Linked DNA regions of Homo sapiens: regions 2 and 3 are each linked to region 1. The links are contacts of gene promoters, found by promoter capture Hi-C in human tissues and cell types (Jung and others, 2019). All regions are on one chromosome and are shown on one strand. The core of a region is centred on a gene start or on the middle of the fragment in contact, and the rest is flanking DNA. Distances in the headings are between cores, read along the strand shown. Region 1 holds the start of BRD4 (bromodomain containing 4). Region 2 holds the start of OR1I1 (olfactory receptor family 1 subfamily I member 1). Region 3 overlaps CYP4F22 (cytochrome P450 family 4 subfamily F member 22).

Evidence for each region. Contacts are between HindIII fragments. The study calls those that stand out against the background at their distance.
Region 2: a contact is called between the fragment with the promoter of OR1I1 here and the fragment with the promoter of BRD4 in region 1, in 1 of the 25 tissues and cell types used here (pancreas).
Region 3: a contact is called between a fragment that was not itself captured here and the fragment with the promoter of BRD4 in region 1, in 1 of the 25 tissues and cell types used here (spleen).

Annotation. Positions count from the first base shown.
Region 1 is chr19:15,329,645-15,334,773 of GRCh38, reverse strand. It overlaps BRD4 (bromodomain containing 4), which reads left to right and starts at 2,235. Exons shown (of 20, transcript NM_001379291.1): 1 at 2,235-2,484. It overlaps LOC124904643 (a long non-coding RNA gene), which reads right to left and starts at 2,161. Exons shown (of 4, transcript XR_007067146.1): 1 at 2,126-2,161. RefSeq lists silencers at 1,926-1,995, 2,136-2,235, 2,466-2,695, 2,896-2,995, 3,026-3,175 and 2 more and an enhancer at 1,353-1,969. The HindIII fragment of the contact is 25,776 bases long and covers 1-5,129 here.
Region 2 is chr19:15,079,790-15,084,918 of GRCh38, reverse strand. It overlaps OR1I1 (olfactory receptor family 1 subfamily I member 1), which reads right to left and starts at 2,708. Exons shown (of 2, transcript NM_001004713.2): 1 at 2,643-2,708. The HindIII fragment of the contact is 16,029 bases long and covers 1-4,699 here.
Region 3 is chr19:15,549,019-15,554,147 of GRCh38, reverse strand. CYP4F22 (cytochrome P450 family 4 subfamily F member 22) reads right to left here. Exons shown (of 14, transcript NM_173483.4): 12 at 4,946-5,010; 13 at 3,392-3,474; 14 at 1,831-2,854. The coding sequence ends at 2,677. Among named protein-coding and RNA genes, the nearest start is that of CYP4F22, 43 kb to the right of the region's middle. RefSeq lists a silencer at 2,533-2,582. The HindIII fragment of the contact is 4,717 bases long and covers 38-4,754 here.

The sequences.
Region 1 (5,129 bases), core at 986-3,485:
CCAAAGTAGCTAGGATTACAGGCACCCGCTACCATACCTGGCTAATTTTTATATTTTTAGTAGAGTCGAAGTTTCACCATGTTGGCCAGGCTGGTCTAGAACTCCTGACCTCAGGTGATCCACCTGCCTCGACCTCCCAAAGTGCTGGGATTACAGGTGTGAGCCACCGCGCCCAGCCTGCTTTCCATTTTTAAAAGATGGGAATACAAAATGCTAAGAGAATGGCCTGGGTGCGGTGGCTCACGCCTGTAGTTCCAGCACTTTGGGAGGCTGAGGGAGGTGGATCGCTTGAGCCCAGGAATTCAAGACCAGTCTGGGCAACATGGTGAGACCTCCTCTCCACAAAAATACAAAAATTAGCTGGGCACGGTGGCGCACACCTGTGGTCCCAGCTACTAAAGAGGCTGACGTGGGAGGATCACTTGAGACTGAGAGTTTGAGGTTACAGTGAGCTATGATCCAGCCACTGCACTCCAGCCTGGGTGACAGAGCAAGATCTTGTCTTAAAAAAAAAAATATATATATATATAAAAGGAAAGAGAAGTGGTTGTTTCCAGGTTTGAAAAATTTCACAGTATTATTTTAAGCTACAAGAGACATATGCCTAACTTCCTCCTTTTAGCAATCTCAAAACTACCCCATGTTTACTAAGCTCTTCCGTGGCCAGGTGGGGTGCTTTGGAAGCCCTAGAAGAGGTCATATGATGTTTTTTCCCCTCGGACTCACACATGTAGAGTAGGCACATACGTCCTGGAGCTGACTTAGGGTTGAGTCTTTTTCTTTTTTGGAGACAGAGCCTTGCTCTGTCGCCCAGGCTAGAGTGCAGTGGCACAATCTCGGCTCACTGCAACCTACGCCTCCCGGGTTCAAGTGATTCTTCTGCCTTAGCCTCCTGAGTAGCTGGCATTACAGGCATGGGATTACAGGCATGCGCCACCACACCCGGCTAATTTTTTTTTTTTTTTTTTGAGACGGAGTCTCGCTCTGTCGCACAGGCTGGAGTGCAGGGGCGCGATCTCCGCTCACAGCAAGCTCCGCCTCCCGGGTTCACGCCATTCTCCTGCCTCAGTCTCTCGAGTAGCTGGGACTACAGGCGCCCACCACCACACCCGGCTAATTTTTTGTATTTTTAGTAGAGACGGGGTTTCACCGTCTTAGCCAGGATGGTCTCGATCTCCTTACCTCGTGATCTGCCCGCCTCCCAAAGTGCTGGGATTACAGGCGTGAGCCACTGCGCCCGGCCCACACGGGGCTAATTTTTGTATTTTTAGTAGAGGCGAGGTTTCACTCTGTTGGCTAGGATGGTCTCCAACCCCTGGCCTCAAGCCAACCTCCTGCCTCTGCCTCCCAAAGTGCTGAGATTACAGGTGTGAGCCACCGAGCCTGGTCTGACTTGGGGTTGAGTCTTAAGGATGGGAAGGAGCTGGGCGCGGTGGCTCACGCCTGTAATACTAGCACTTTGGGAGGTCGAGGCAGGAGGATCGCTTGAGTCCAGGAGACAGAGACCAGCCTGGCCAACATCGTGAGATCCCATCTCTACAAAAAATAGTTAGCTGGGTGTGGTGGTGCACACCTGTAGTCCCAGCTACTTGGGAGGCTGAAGCAGGAGGATCGCTTGAGGCCAGCAGGTTGAGGCTGCAGTGAGCTATGACTGCACTACTGCACTCCAGCCTGGGGGACAGAGCAAGACCATGTCCCTTTTTTTAAAAAGGTGGGTTGGAAGAAGATCAACAGGGGGGCATAAGAGGAGAAAGGTGCTACCTCCCTGCCCAGGGGCAGCCAAGGAGGATCCGCCTCGGCCTTGCTCGCAGCCTCCTCTCACCTCCTTTCCTCCACTTCACCCCAGCCCCGGCGCCCCCATCGCAGCTCTCTCGCCTCAGCCTCCCTACCTGGGGTCCCCCCTTAGGGCTCTCTCCTCCGCCTCCTCCATCAGTCTGTGGGGTCCCTCCTCACCATCCTCCCTCCCTGTGAGGGTCTGTCTTCAGACCTTTCTTAGTATTTTGGATGTCTCTCTCAGCCTTCAGATCTTTTCCCGCAGGCCCAGCCTGCAGTCCGCCCGTTTCCCCCAGCCCGCTCCTTCGCTCTGCGGGGTCTCCTCCCTCAGTCCGCGGTATCCCCCACTCACCTCGCAGCCACTGTCTCTCCAGAGCTCGTTCGCGCTGGGCGCGGGGGCGGGGCGCGCACACCGGGCGGCGGCGGCGCGGGGCCGCGCGCGCAGCGTGCGCGGTGACGTCAGTGCGCTGGCGGCGGCGGCGGCGGCGGCGGCGGCGGCTGGGCTGTTTGTTCTGGTCTCCCGCAGCCGAGGAGCCGAAGCAGTGGCGGCGGCAGCGGCTGCGGCGGCTGCCGGCGGTGCCCGCGGGCGAGCGCGGCCTGTGAGCTCGGCAGAGCGGCGGGCGGGCCCCGGCGCCGCGCAGGCAGCTCGGGGAGGGGGCGGCGGCAGCGGGCGGACGGCCGGCGGGGGCGGCGTGCGGCCTAGCGTCTCAGGTGAGGACTGGTGCCCTTTGGGGCGGCGGACGACACTGGGCGGCTGGCGGAGGCTCGCGGCGCGGTCCGCGTAACCTGCATTGCGTAATGGGGCCGGGGCGCCGCCACCTACGCCATCCGCGCGGCGCGGGGGCGGGGAGGCCGGGGCTACGCGGGCTCGGGCCTGCGGGCCTCCCGCGCCGTTCGTTCCGGGCCGGGGCGGCCTGCGCCGTTGGTGTCGGGGCGGCGGGGTCGCTCGCGGCTGTCCTGCCTTTGGTGCCGTCGGACCCGGGCTTGGGCTGGCCGGCGGGGCGCGGGTGGGGGGCGCGGGCGCCGCGGCGGGGCCGGCGGTCGGGGGCGGGCGGGGGGCGGGCCGAGGCGCCCGGCACTTCCTGCCGCCGCCATTTTGTTAAGTGAGGAGGAGGAGGAGGAGGAGGAAGCGGCCGCCGCGGGGTCCGCGGCGCGCCCGGCCCGGGTAAGTCCCGGCCTGGCGCGGGGGCCGCGAGCGCAGCTGTCCCGGTCCGCGGTCCTCTAGGCGGGCTCGGCCGCGGCGCTCACGTGGGCCGGGGCCGGCGCGCTCTCCTTCTGGCACCCAGGTCGTTTTGCCTGGGCCGGGGCAGCGCGCCCCCACCCCCATCTCTTCACCTTCCCGGCGGTCCCCGGAGTGCTGCGGAGAAAGGGGCAGGTCCCCTGCGGAGGGAGGTGGCTGCGGCTGCACGCCGGTCTGAGGCCAGGCCTCAGGGCGGGAGCGGTGCCCTGGAGGCGAGCTTGGCCCGCTTGACGCACCCACTCTCAGCCTGGCAGCCCCTTGCTGGGCGCTTTGTTTTGCTCGGTCCGTGCTCGCCGGCGTCCTTGCAACGGCCTATTTTATTTGCAGTGTTGTGTGGTGGTGGTGATTGTGGTGATTTGGGGTGGGGATGTGGGGGAGTTGTGATTCAGCGAAATAAAATGATCCCCCTCCTCCCAAACGGAAATAGCATGGCTTCACTCGGCTGAGATGCCCCCAAGGCTTGGGTTTGCTTGAAGATGGGAAACCCCACTCTGTTGTAGTGGACGGTGTAAATACTTTAGTTCAGGCCGGTGCATGAGTCATGTGCTTCTCCTGGGTGGCTGACCTCCCTTTTACTCAAGACTACGCTTTGTTTTTTTAAGATTTTTATTTGCTTGTTTACTTGTTTACGTTTCGTGCAGCCTGGTGGGGTGTCTGGTCTTGGGTTCATTTCTCTGCGTGTGTGTTGGATGCTAGTGACCCCTTGGAATGTATGCCTCACGAGAATTGGAATGTCTTTGCTTACCTTCGACAGGGCTCTACCAGTCCGTGGTTCCAAAAACCAAGTCGCAGTTTACCTCGTAAGCCAGTGGCTCTTTGGGGCTGTAACAATGGTCGGGAGTTTTTTGTGAATGGAGCTGTCAAGTTCCCTACCGTCTTTGGAAGTTGTAAAGAAAGCGATACTCAAAAGGATTTATGAATGTGTTTTTAATTTCAAGAAAGTTTTTGATGGCACAATCTGTTTTATGATCTTGCCAATATATACATATACTTTTAGATGGAGTCTCGCTCTGTCGCCCAGGCTGTAGTGCAGTGGCGCGATCTCGGCTCACTGCAACCTCTGCCTCCTGGGTTCAAGCGATTCTCCTGTCTCAGCCTCTCGAGTAGCTGGGACTACAGGCGCCCGCCACCACATCTAGCTAATTTTTGCATTTTTAGGAGAGACGCGGGTTTCACCATGTTGGCCAGGCTGGTCTCGAACTCCTGACCTCAGGTGTTCCATCCTCCTCGGCTTCCCAAAGTGTTGGGATTACAGGCATGAGCCACCGTTCCCGGCCGCCAATAATTTCATAAAGCATTTATTTCGGTTTAATTTGGGTGGGGATTATGTTTTTTATCTTTTTATCTTATCACTGATGCGTTGTAGATAACCAAGCGCTTCCCCCCAAAAACTTCAGCCAGGGAAAGATAAACCACTCAGGGTTTCCATTGATCAAATGGAGAAGGCAAAGCCTAATCTGAAACAAAATGTATTGCTGCTCTGTTATCCACCATACCTCTTTCTTTGGTAGGAAACATAGTATCTTAAAGGCTCAAACTGGAGTTAGCCGGTCTCAGAATGGCTTTAGTTGGTCTTAATTGGAAGGAGTCGAGTCCACCTCCGAGTATCTTGCTAGCAGTCAGCCCAGTGGAATTGCTGAAGATAAGGAACTTTGCCTACGGATGAAAGATAAGAAGGTAGCTGCTGAGTTTTAAGGATTGTTTGGCTGTTCTGGGGTGCTATATGCCTAGCTTCGCTAGTCTGGAGGACAGCGAGGGAAAATTTTTAGCTAAGAATAACGAGAATCATTGGCCACTTAGTAACATTTCCACTAAATTATTGAATTGTTTAAAGGAATTTAGACTTTGTTTCTAAAAGTTGCCTTTTTGAGCCAGTTGTTGTGATCTTTGTACTAAATTGCACTTTTGCTTTAGGAGGTGGGGGTAACAATATTTTCTTGTTTCACAATTCAGGTTATTGAATGACTTCAGATTTACAGATTTAAGAGATTGAATTTTGTTTTGTTTTTATTTTTTATTTTTTTGAGAGAGTCTGAAGTCAGTCGACAGGCTGGAGTGCAGTGGTGCGATCTCGGCTCACTGCAACCTCTGCCTCCTGGGTTCAAGCGAGTCTCCT
Region 2 (5,129 bases), core at 1,459-3,958, 250 kb after region 1:
TGTACCTCCTGAGCTCAGGTGTTCCTCCCACCTCAGCCTTCCTAGTAGCTGGGACAGGTGTTTTTATTTTGCCCTCAGCAATAATGATATCTGTAATGGGTTAAACCTTCTTAGGAGCCAGTTTCTTTCTTTTTTTTTCCCCCAGCTATTGGCTGCTCAGCATGATTTTTATTTTATTTAATTTTATCATTTTATTTTAAGTTCCAGGATACACGTGCAGGACGTGCAGGTTTGTTACATAGGTAAACGTGTGCCATAGTGGTTTGCTGCACCTATCAAGCCATCACCTCGGTATTAAGCCCAGCATGCATTAGCTATTTATCCTGATGAGGAGCCGGTTTCTTTCTTTCTTTTCTTTTTTGAGATGGAGTCTTACTCTGTCACCCAAGCTGGAGTGCAGTGGCGCGATCTTGGCTCACTGCAACCCCCGCCTCCTGGGTTCAAAAGATTCTCCTGCCTCAGCCTCCTGAGTAGCTGGGATGACAGGCGAGCACCACCACGCATGGCTAATTTTTGTATTTTTAGTAGAGATGGGGTTTCACCATGTTTGTCAGACTGGTCTTGAACTCCTGACCTCATCATCTGCCCGGCTTGATCTCTCAAAGTGCTGGGATTACAGGCGTGAGCCACTGCAGCCAGCCAGGAGCCAGTTTCTTAATGCATAGGTCTTACAATAACTCCCACAGGGAGATTGTGTTAGCTACAATTTACAGTGAGCAGACTGGGGCTGAGCGAGCTGCCAGGGGCACTCAGCTTGCAAGTGCCTGATCTCGCCTTTGAATTTAGACTTATTTTCACTCTCATACTCCACTGCCTCCCTAAGAATGGCCACTCTCACCTCTTTATGAGGCATTTCGAAGCTAAATTCTGTGCTGTCAACACGTGCAAGGGAAAAATATTCAATTACAAGCATTTACACGTGTTTCTTTTCGAGACAGAGTCTCACTCTGTCACCTAGGCTAGAGTACAGTGGCACGATCTCGGCTCACTGCAACATCCGTCTCCTGGGTTCAAGTGATTCTTGTGCCTCAGCCACCCGAATAGCTGGGATTACAGGTGTGCATCACCACGCCCGATTAATTTTTGTATTTTTAGTAGAGACGGGGTTTCGCCTCTACTAAGCCTGTTGGCCAGGCTGGTCTTGAACTCCTGACCCGGTGATCCGCCCACCTTGGCCTCCCAAAGTACTGAGATTACAGGCGTGAGCCCAGTAATCTCATCATTTCAGCGCCCAGCCGATGAAAGGGGTTTTTAGGAAGGTTAGCAGCATAATCTCCTTGGTAACCCCAAGAGGCCTTCAGCAAAGCCCTATGTTAACTTTTTGAGGCTTTTTAGTGTTGGACTTGAGGTTTTTGCAATGCAATGCTTGGTTTTCTCTAGGCTGGATAGAATACTGCGATTCCCTTCCTGGCAACATATTTGTAACAGTCCTCAGTTGTTGACTTGGGTTGCATAGAGCAGCGGTTCTCAACCTTGAGCACGCTTCAGGGTCACCTGGAAGGCTTGTTAAAACACAAAAAGCGGGCCAGGCATGGTGGCTCACACCTGTAATCCCAGCACTTTGGGAGGCTGAAGTGGGAGAATTGCTTGAGGCCAGGAGTTCAAGACCAGCCTGGCAGACAAAGTGAGGCCACCCCACCCCCAATCCCGCCCTGGATCTACAAAAAATAAAACAATCTGCTGGGCATGGTGGCATGCTTCCATAGTCCCAGCTACTCAGAAGGCTGAGGTGGGAGAATCCCTTGAGTCCAGGAGTTAGAGACCAACCTGGGCAACACAGTGAGACCCCCATCTCTACAAAATAAAAAATTAGCTGGACATGGTGGCACACACCTGTTAGTCCCAGCTGCTTGGGGGGCCAAGGTAGGAGGATCTCTTGAGCCCGGGAGTGTGAGACCATCCTGGGCAACATAGGAAGATCCCTGCCTCTACGAAAATAAAATTAGCCAGGCATGGTGGTATATGTCTGTTATCCCAGGTACCCGGGAGGCTGAGGAGGGAGGATCACTTGAGCTTGGGAGGTCGAGGCTGCGATGAGCTATGATAATGCCACTGCACTCCAGACTGGGCAACAGAGCGAGACCCTGTCTCAAAAACAGAAAGAACAAACAAACAAACAAAACAATCCCCCCGCCCCCTCCCCCCCGCTCCCAAACTCATCATACACAAAAAGCTAAGCCCTTTCCCTGAAATGTCTGGTGTAAGAACCAGCACTTCTAGATAGTTTCCAGAGGATGCTGGTGCTTCTAGCCCAGGGACCACACTTGGGGAGCTGCTGCATTGGAGAAACTTGTTTCTCAAGACCTCTCCTATCTGTGCAGGTGTCCTGCAGCTGCAGACCCTCAGTGCTTTTCCTCCACATATCCTGCCACAGAGGGTCTGCCGTCTGCGTGCTTTGTCCACTCAGAGAGTCTAGACTTGGTCTCAGTCTCTTCTCTCTCTCTCGGCCTCTAGGAAGGAGACAGATTCCTCTCCCACAACCCTCCACCCCCACCCTCAGCTCAATCCTTTCCCCATCCCTCACCTGCTCACCAGGATGGCATCACCAAGGGGAGGGTCCCGGGAAGCCTCCTTCTCCACCAACTGCTAGAGGATCCCGAGGTCAGCACTAAACCCCTAGGAAGGGCATGGGGGCTACTCACCTGTGATCGCTGGGGTTAGCCTGATGTCTATGGGAAGGATTCATATGTGTACCCCCCCGCCCCCAGACTCTGCAGGTGAGTGGGGGAGCCAGGGGAACATCAGGGTATTTATAGTCTGGGGACTCTAGGAGACTTCGTCCCCATAGCTCCTTGTTAAGGAAGCGGATGCTAATTATTTTGTTTCTCCTCTGCCACATGTGACCTGTTCTTTTGGAGATGGGTGTGCTTTGGGATCATCGAGTGGGTAAGAAGAGGAAACAGTGACTAGGGATTCACTCTCACTAGGACATCTCCCTACGGTCTCCTTCCAGCTCAGGCTGAGCTTCATGGAAGCTCCCAGGCAGAGAGGTCTGGGGGGTCCCAGACTCCAGTCGGGCACTCAGATGCCTGAATCTGAGAGGTCCTTTCATTCATTGCATTATGGAAGAAACTGGCTCATTAAGGAAAGCTCCGAAGAGTATCAATCAATCAATAAATCGGTATTAAATAAATAAATTTATCAAACACTTTTTTTTGAGATGGAGTGTCACTCTTTCACCCAGCCTGGAGCACAGTGGAGCAATCTCGGCTCACTGCAACCTCCACCTCCTGGGTTCTAGCAATTCTCCCTCCTCAGCCTCTTGAGTAGCTGGAATTACTGGTGCCCACCACCATGCCCAGCTAGTCTTTGTATTTTTAGTAGAGACAGGGTTTCACCATGTTGGAAAGACTGATCTCAAACCTCAAGTGATCTGCTCTCCTCGGTCTCCCAAAGTGCTGGGATTACAGGCCTGAGCCACTGTACCCGGCCTATCAAACACTTCTTGATCACCTGCTTGGCACTGGAGTTGGACACGGTGGCTCATGCCTATAATCCTAGCTACTTGGGAGGCCAAGGTTGGAGAATCCCTTGAGCCTAGAAGTTTGAGACCAGCTTGGGCAAAACAGCAAGACCTTATATCTACAAAAAATTTAAAAAAATTAGCCAGGATTGGTGGCACATGCCCGTGGTCTCAGTTACCCAGGAGGCTGAGGTGGGAGGATCACTTGAGCCCTGGAGGTTGAGGCTGCAGTGAGCTGTGATCGCACCACTGCATTCCAACCTGGACAACGGAGTGAGACCCTGTCTCTTAAAAAAAAAATCCTTCCTATCAGCCACACAGAACGTGTGTAGGATACTTGTTGAAATTCTCCTAGGGGCTTTAGTAAATATTAGAATTACTTTCCCTAATAATATTGGCTGTTGGACTGTTGGCTCTTGGATCGTAACTCTGTGGGGAGGTCAGCTTCAAAGCAAGAACAAGGTAGACCAACTTCGCGTTGGACATATGGGGATATGAGTAGGTGCCAATCCCACTGTCATTATTTTTTTAAAATTAAAATTATTTTCAGAGGCTGGGCATGGTGGTTCACACCTGTAATCCTAGCACTTTGGGAGGCCGAGGCAGGTGGATCAATTTAGCTCAGGAGTTTGAGACCAGCCCGGCCAACATGGTGAAACCCTGTCTCTACTAAAAATACAAAATTAGCTGGACGTGCCTATAGTCCCAACTACTCAGGAGGCTGAGGTGGGAGGATCCCTTGAGCCCGGGAGGTGAAGTTTGCAGCAAGTTGAGATCATGCCACTGCACTCCAGCCTGGGTGACAGAGTGAGACCTTGTCTCAAAAAAAAAAAAAAAATCAATTTGAGCCCAAAGGTTGGGGAAAAACCCACCTAAAAAGTCCATAAGGTGGCCAGACATGGTGGCTCACACCTGTAATCCCAGCACTTTGGGAGGCTGAGGCGGGTGGATCACTTGAGGTCGGGAGTTCGAGACCAGCCTGGGAAAAATGGTGAAACCCAGTCTCTACTAAAAGTACAAAAATTAGCTGGGCATGGTGGGTGGGCATCTGTAATCCTAGCTACTTGGGAGGCTGAGGCAGGAGAATCACTTGAACCTGGGAGGCGAAGATTGCAGTGAGCCGAGATTGTGCCACTGCACTCCAGCCTGGGTGACAGAGCAAGACTCCATCTCAAAAAAAAAAAAAAAAAAAAGTCCCACTGGGTGAACAAACTTTTGCCACTGTCCGTGGTTCTGAAAAAAAATTATTTTGCCCAAAGCCATGGTAGGTAGGACATTGGTGTCTCCCATCCGAACTCTCCTGGGAATTCTGAAACCAGTTATAGAAGGAAGAGTGAAGAGAGATAAGGAGGAATAAAAGATATATTCAGGAAGAAAAAAGCCTTTCTTTTTGATATGACTCTATAGAAAATGTTATCAAAAATAACATTTCCCCCCCTGGGAAATTGGTATAAGGCAGGGCCAGTTATACACTCCCAGAGTCCAGTTTTCTAGTCATGTTGGTTTGGAGTCCAGTGCTGATTGCTTTGGGAAAATCTTAGAGTCTTTATGTGGCAATGAGTCTGGTACCAGGAAACCATCAATGAACATTGGGAGGGAGGAAGAAGGGGGTGGTCTACTTCATTCTATCCTCTCTAGGAGTGAGGTCCAGATTTCTTCTCTCAGC
Region 3 (5,129 bases), core at 1,147-3,646, 220 kb before region 1:
CAGGAGGATCGTTTGAGCCCAAGGAGGCCAAGGCTGCAGTGAGCTATGGTTGCACCCCTGCACACCAGCCTGAGCAACAAAGCATGACCCTGTCTCAAAAAAAAAAAAAAAAAAGTTCGTATGACAAAGCTTGTCCCTCCTCTGCTCAGAACTCCCCATTTCTGTCACAAAAAAAGTCACAGAAAAGGCCCTGTGTGAATTTACTTCTTTCTTTACTTATTTATCATTTATCATATCTCCTCCCTAGAGGTAAACTCTGGGAACCTAGGGCTCAAACAGTGCCTGTCTCACGGCAGATTGCCCAAGAAATATTTGGTAAATTAATTTTTTTTTTAGACAGAATCTCACTCTGTCGCCCAGGCTGGAGTGCAGTGGCACAATCTCGGCTCACTGCAACCTCCACCTCCCAGGTTCAAGCGATTCTCCTGCCTCAGCCTACTGAGTAGCTGGGATTACAGGCACCCGCCATCAAACGTGGCTAATTTTTGTATTTTTTAGTAGAGACAGGGTTTCACCATGTTGGCCAGGCTGGTCTCAAACTCCTAACCTCAGGTGATCCACCTGTCTCAGCCTCCCAAAGTGCTGGGATTACAGGCATGAGCCACCGCACCCGGCCTGTTGAATTAATATTATTGTCTCTAGTGACCTAGATGGAAATAGTCTACAGGCAAATGCTACCTAAAAGGAAGATGATACCACTATTATACCACCACTATATATATAATGATGGCATATATAGTGCATATATATATATTATATATGTGGTATAATAGCAGTATCATTTTCCTTTAGTGTAGCATTTTATATGTATAAAATTGCTGACATTGTCATTGCCCACCTTTTTTTGTTTGTTTGTTTTTGGAACAGGGTCTTGCTCTGTTGCCCCAGCTGGAGTGCAGTGGTGTGATCATAGCTCACTGCAGCCTCAAACTCCTCAGCTCAAGTGATCCTCCTGCCTCAGCCTCCCAAGTAGCTGGGACTACAGATGTGCACCATCACACCTGGCTAATTTTTTATTTTTTGTAGAAATGGAGTCTCACTGTGTTGCCCTGGCTGGTCTCTAACTCCTGGTCTCAAGCAATCCTCCAGCCTCAGCCTCCCAAAGTGCTGGGATTACAGGTGTAAGCCATCACGCCTGGCCCCCATCTTTTATATTCCCATATCAGGGACTACTCTACCATCAAGTTCCCTCAGCCAAATACCTGAGCATCACCCTTACCACCTCCCTCCCCTCAGCCCCCACTGCTAGATAGTCACCCCAATCCTGGCCCTTCCTGTTGTCTGGACCTCAGCTTCCCTCTTTCCCAGGGTCCCAACCCCGCAAGTCACCTCCCTGCCAGCCCTAGATCTGGCCATGTCCTGTCCTGATCCCGCTCACACACTCTCCATGGCTCCCTATTGCCCTCAGCATAAAGCCTGTGCATTTGGCCCCTTCCTTCATTCTGCCCCCACTTCCCAGATCCAACCACCTGGCCCCTGGTGAGTTCCTCAAACACACTCTGTTCTCCCTCAGCTCAGGGTATTCTCAGATGTTGTTCCTTCTGCCTGGAATACTCTTCCCTCCCCTTGTCACCCACTCAACTTCCATTCCAGCATCGGAGAAGCTCTCCCTGACCCATCCCCATCCCTCTGCTATATTCATCCAGCACCCGGGGCCTCTCCTTTGGAGCACCTGTCCTGGGTTGTAAATAAACCTTTACACGTGGAATTATTTGTTCAACATCTGTCCCCCACCCCCTAAGAAGGCAGAAAACAGGGCCTGCCTGTGGTTCTGAAGCAGTGCCAGCAAACAATATGTGATCTGTTGATGAAATAAATGAACACACAAACTGACCCCCAAAATCTGAGTTTATGTCCTAGGATAAATGGCTTTCCAGCCTCCTAGCCCGCAGCTTCGCTCAGTTGCAGAGCCCCTCATTCCCATGCTGGGGGCTCCACGTGTAAGGATCTGGCTGAGCTAGGGGTGGAGGGTGGGGTAAGTCTGCATCCTTTGCTTTTATTCTGCAAAAACAGAACACTCAGCAAAGGATCTTTGGGCAAGGGAGGAAGGAAGGGGCTTACAAGGGTCTGAGTTTACAAAACAACAACAAAAGCAAGCAGCCTCGAACCCTACGATCCAGCCTCACGCCTGAGCAGTCTGCCCGTATGAGCTGAGGGCCTCAGGAGGGTGATGTCCGAGTTAAAAGCTCTGACGTCAGGCTCCAGCTTTCCTCAGTTTGGAAGCCTGCCAGGGGTTCAGCCAGTTGGGGGGGGGTGGGGTGTGGTGGGCCCTGAGTCATAGGTGGGTCTTAGGTCCTCTGAAGGCTCAGTGGGCAAGGCCTGGAGACCTGGATCTGCAGGGGCGTGGCCTGAGGACCTCAATCCGTAGGATCCTGGGGGCGGGGCCTGAGCCCAAGGGGGCAGGGTCGACCCTGGTCCCTCAAACAGGACAGGTGCGAGAAGTCAGGGGGCGGGACCTAAGCCTCAAGGGGCGGGATCAGGCCCCCTAAGGGGAGGAGCCTTGCCTTGAGGGGCGTGGCCAGTACCACCAGGCTGCTCAACAGCGGTGCCTGGTCATCCAGGAGCTGAACCTGAACTTCGAGGGGGGTGGCCTATGCCCTCGGGATCTTTGGGGCGAGTCCTGGTCCTTTGGGGGCGGGGCCTGGACCCTCGGGAGCCGCAGGGGCGCGCCCACGCTCAGGCCCGCGGAGGCAGCGGCTCCACCTTGAGCCAGAGCCCGTTCTCCGTGCGCAGTATGAGCTCCGGCTTCCGCCGCACCTTGCGCGTTCGGTCCACGCTCAGGCGGAAACGTAGCAGTGTTAGTGCCACAACCACGCGCAACTCGGCCATGGCGAAGCTCTGTCCGATGCAATTCCTGGAGGAAGAGGGGACAGGGCTCAGGCCCAGCTTCTGTGTGAGCACTGGTCCCCGGGGGTCACATGCCTCCTTTGAAAATGAAGCAAGCATCCTGGGCTGGCTGAGGGTTAAAGTGAAACCCCACGCTGGGTGAGGGTTAAAGTGAGACCCCACGGATCGCTCAATTAATGTGACCTTGGGGTTGAGTGTCTGAATCCCAGTACAGCCTCTTACTAGCTGTGTGTCCTGGATACACAGCGCCCCCTCTGAGTCTCAGTTCCTTCATCTGTAAAAACGGGGACAAAGGCATCATAGAGCCAATGGGAGCGTGGGAGCCCAGAACTCAGGGCCTGACACACCGTTGGTGCTCAATACCCAGGATGCTATTGCAGAGTCTGATTTGGGGGCCTCCTGGCGCATTGGGGAGAGGGTGCTGGGTCTTCAGAAAGGACGCCTGGGTGCCATCTGATCTCTGCTCCTGAGAGGCACATTCCTGATCTTTCCCTGCCTCTGTTCCTACACAGCTGGCTTGGACTAGGGGAAATAGAGGGGTTACCTGGGTCCTGCAGAGAAGGGCACATAGGCCAGTGGAGAGCGCTGCTGTGGGTTGTCCGGGTCAAAGCGGTAGGGGTTGTACACCTAGGGAGGAACAGCCTGGAGATGAGTCTGGGGGCTGCCCCAGACATCCCAGCCTGGCCCCCTTCCCTGAGCCTCTGGGGGTCAGTAAAGATGGATGGGGAGCACCCCAGGGCCACCTCTTCCATTCCACCTTGCACTTCCTGCAATGCAGCCACACCTGCCTCCTTCTGTTGTTCACACGCACCAGTGAGATTCCACCTCAGGGCCTTTGCACTTGCTGTTTCCTCTGCCTAGAACAGGCTTCTCCCTGATCCTTCATCCCCTAAGTTCTCAGCTCAAACATCTCCTCGGCAAGGCCTTTCATAACCACTCGAGCTAAAGTGCCCCCTCCACCTGTTTTTCTTTTTTTTTGTTTGTTTGTCTGTCTTTGTTTGTTTGTTTGTTTGTTAGAGTCAGAGTCTCACTCAGGCTGGAGTGCAGAAGCGCGATCATAGCTCATTGCAGGCTGGGCGCGGTGGCTCACGCTTGTAATCCCAGCACTTTGGGAGGCCAAGGCAGATGGATCATCTGAGCTCAGGAGTTCAAGACCAGCCTGGCCAACATGGTGAAACCCCATCTCTACTAAAAATACAAAAAAATTAGCCAGGCATGGTGGCACACACCTGTAATCCCAACTACTCAGAAAGCTGAGGCAGGAGAATCTCTTGAACCCAGGAGGTAGAAGTTGCAGTGAGCCAAGATCGCACCACTGCACACGCTCCAGCTTGGGCAACAGAGCAAGACCCAGTCTCAAATAAATAAATAAATAAATAACCATAGCTCATTGCAGCCTCAAACTGCTGGGCCCAAGCGATCCTCCTGCCTCAGCCTCCCGAGTGGCTGGCACTGCAGATGTGCATCACCATGGCTGGCTAACTTTTTTTTTTTTTAGAAATGGGGTCTCACTGTGTTGCCCAGGCTGGGCTGAGCTGGAACTTCTGGCCTCAAACAATCTTCCCATCTTGGTCTCCCAAAGCACTGGGATTACAGACACAAGCCACCACATTGGGCCAACTTTTTCCTTTTTGGTAGAGATGGGGGGTCTCGCTGTGTTGCCCAGGCTGGTCTCAAACTCCTGGGCCCAAGCGATTCTCCCACCTTAGCCTCTCAAAGTGCTGGGATTACAAGTGTGAGCCACTGCACCTGTAAACCGGAACTGGCCCAGTTTTTCTTTCTTTTGTGCATGTATCAATACCCAAAATCTTATTTATTTGCTTATTGTCTTCCCCAAAACTTCACTGTGAGCCCTGTAAAGGCAAAGACAGTATCATCCTCTATTTTCAGAGCCCAGCACACACTCTGGCACACAGTAGGTGCTCAATAAATATTTTCTGCCCTAATGAATTAACAATCAGTGGGTGAATAAATGGCTAAATGCGGAGTGGGGAGGGGTGTGCGCACTCAGGCCCTGCAACCAGCCCTGCTCGCTGGCTCCCTGGGGCGCAGGGGAGGGGAGGACCTGAGGGCAGGGAGGAGTGGGGCAGGCACTCACCTTGGAGTCAGGCCACACTGTGGGGTTGTGGTGGGTTCCATAGATGCTGACCAAGCAGATGATTCCTGTGGGGAAAGATGGGATCAGTGGGGCCAAGGGGAGCCAGGGCCTCCTCCAGAAACATCCCCCAACTTGGGTCTCCCTAGAGCCATGATGTTCCCATGAGCCATCTGCCACCACCTTC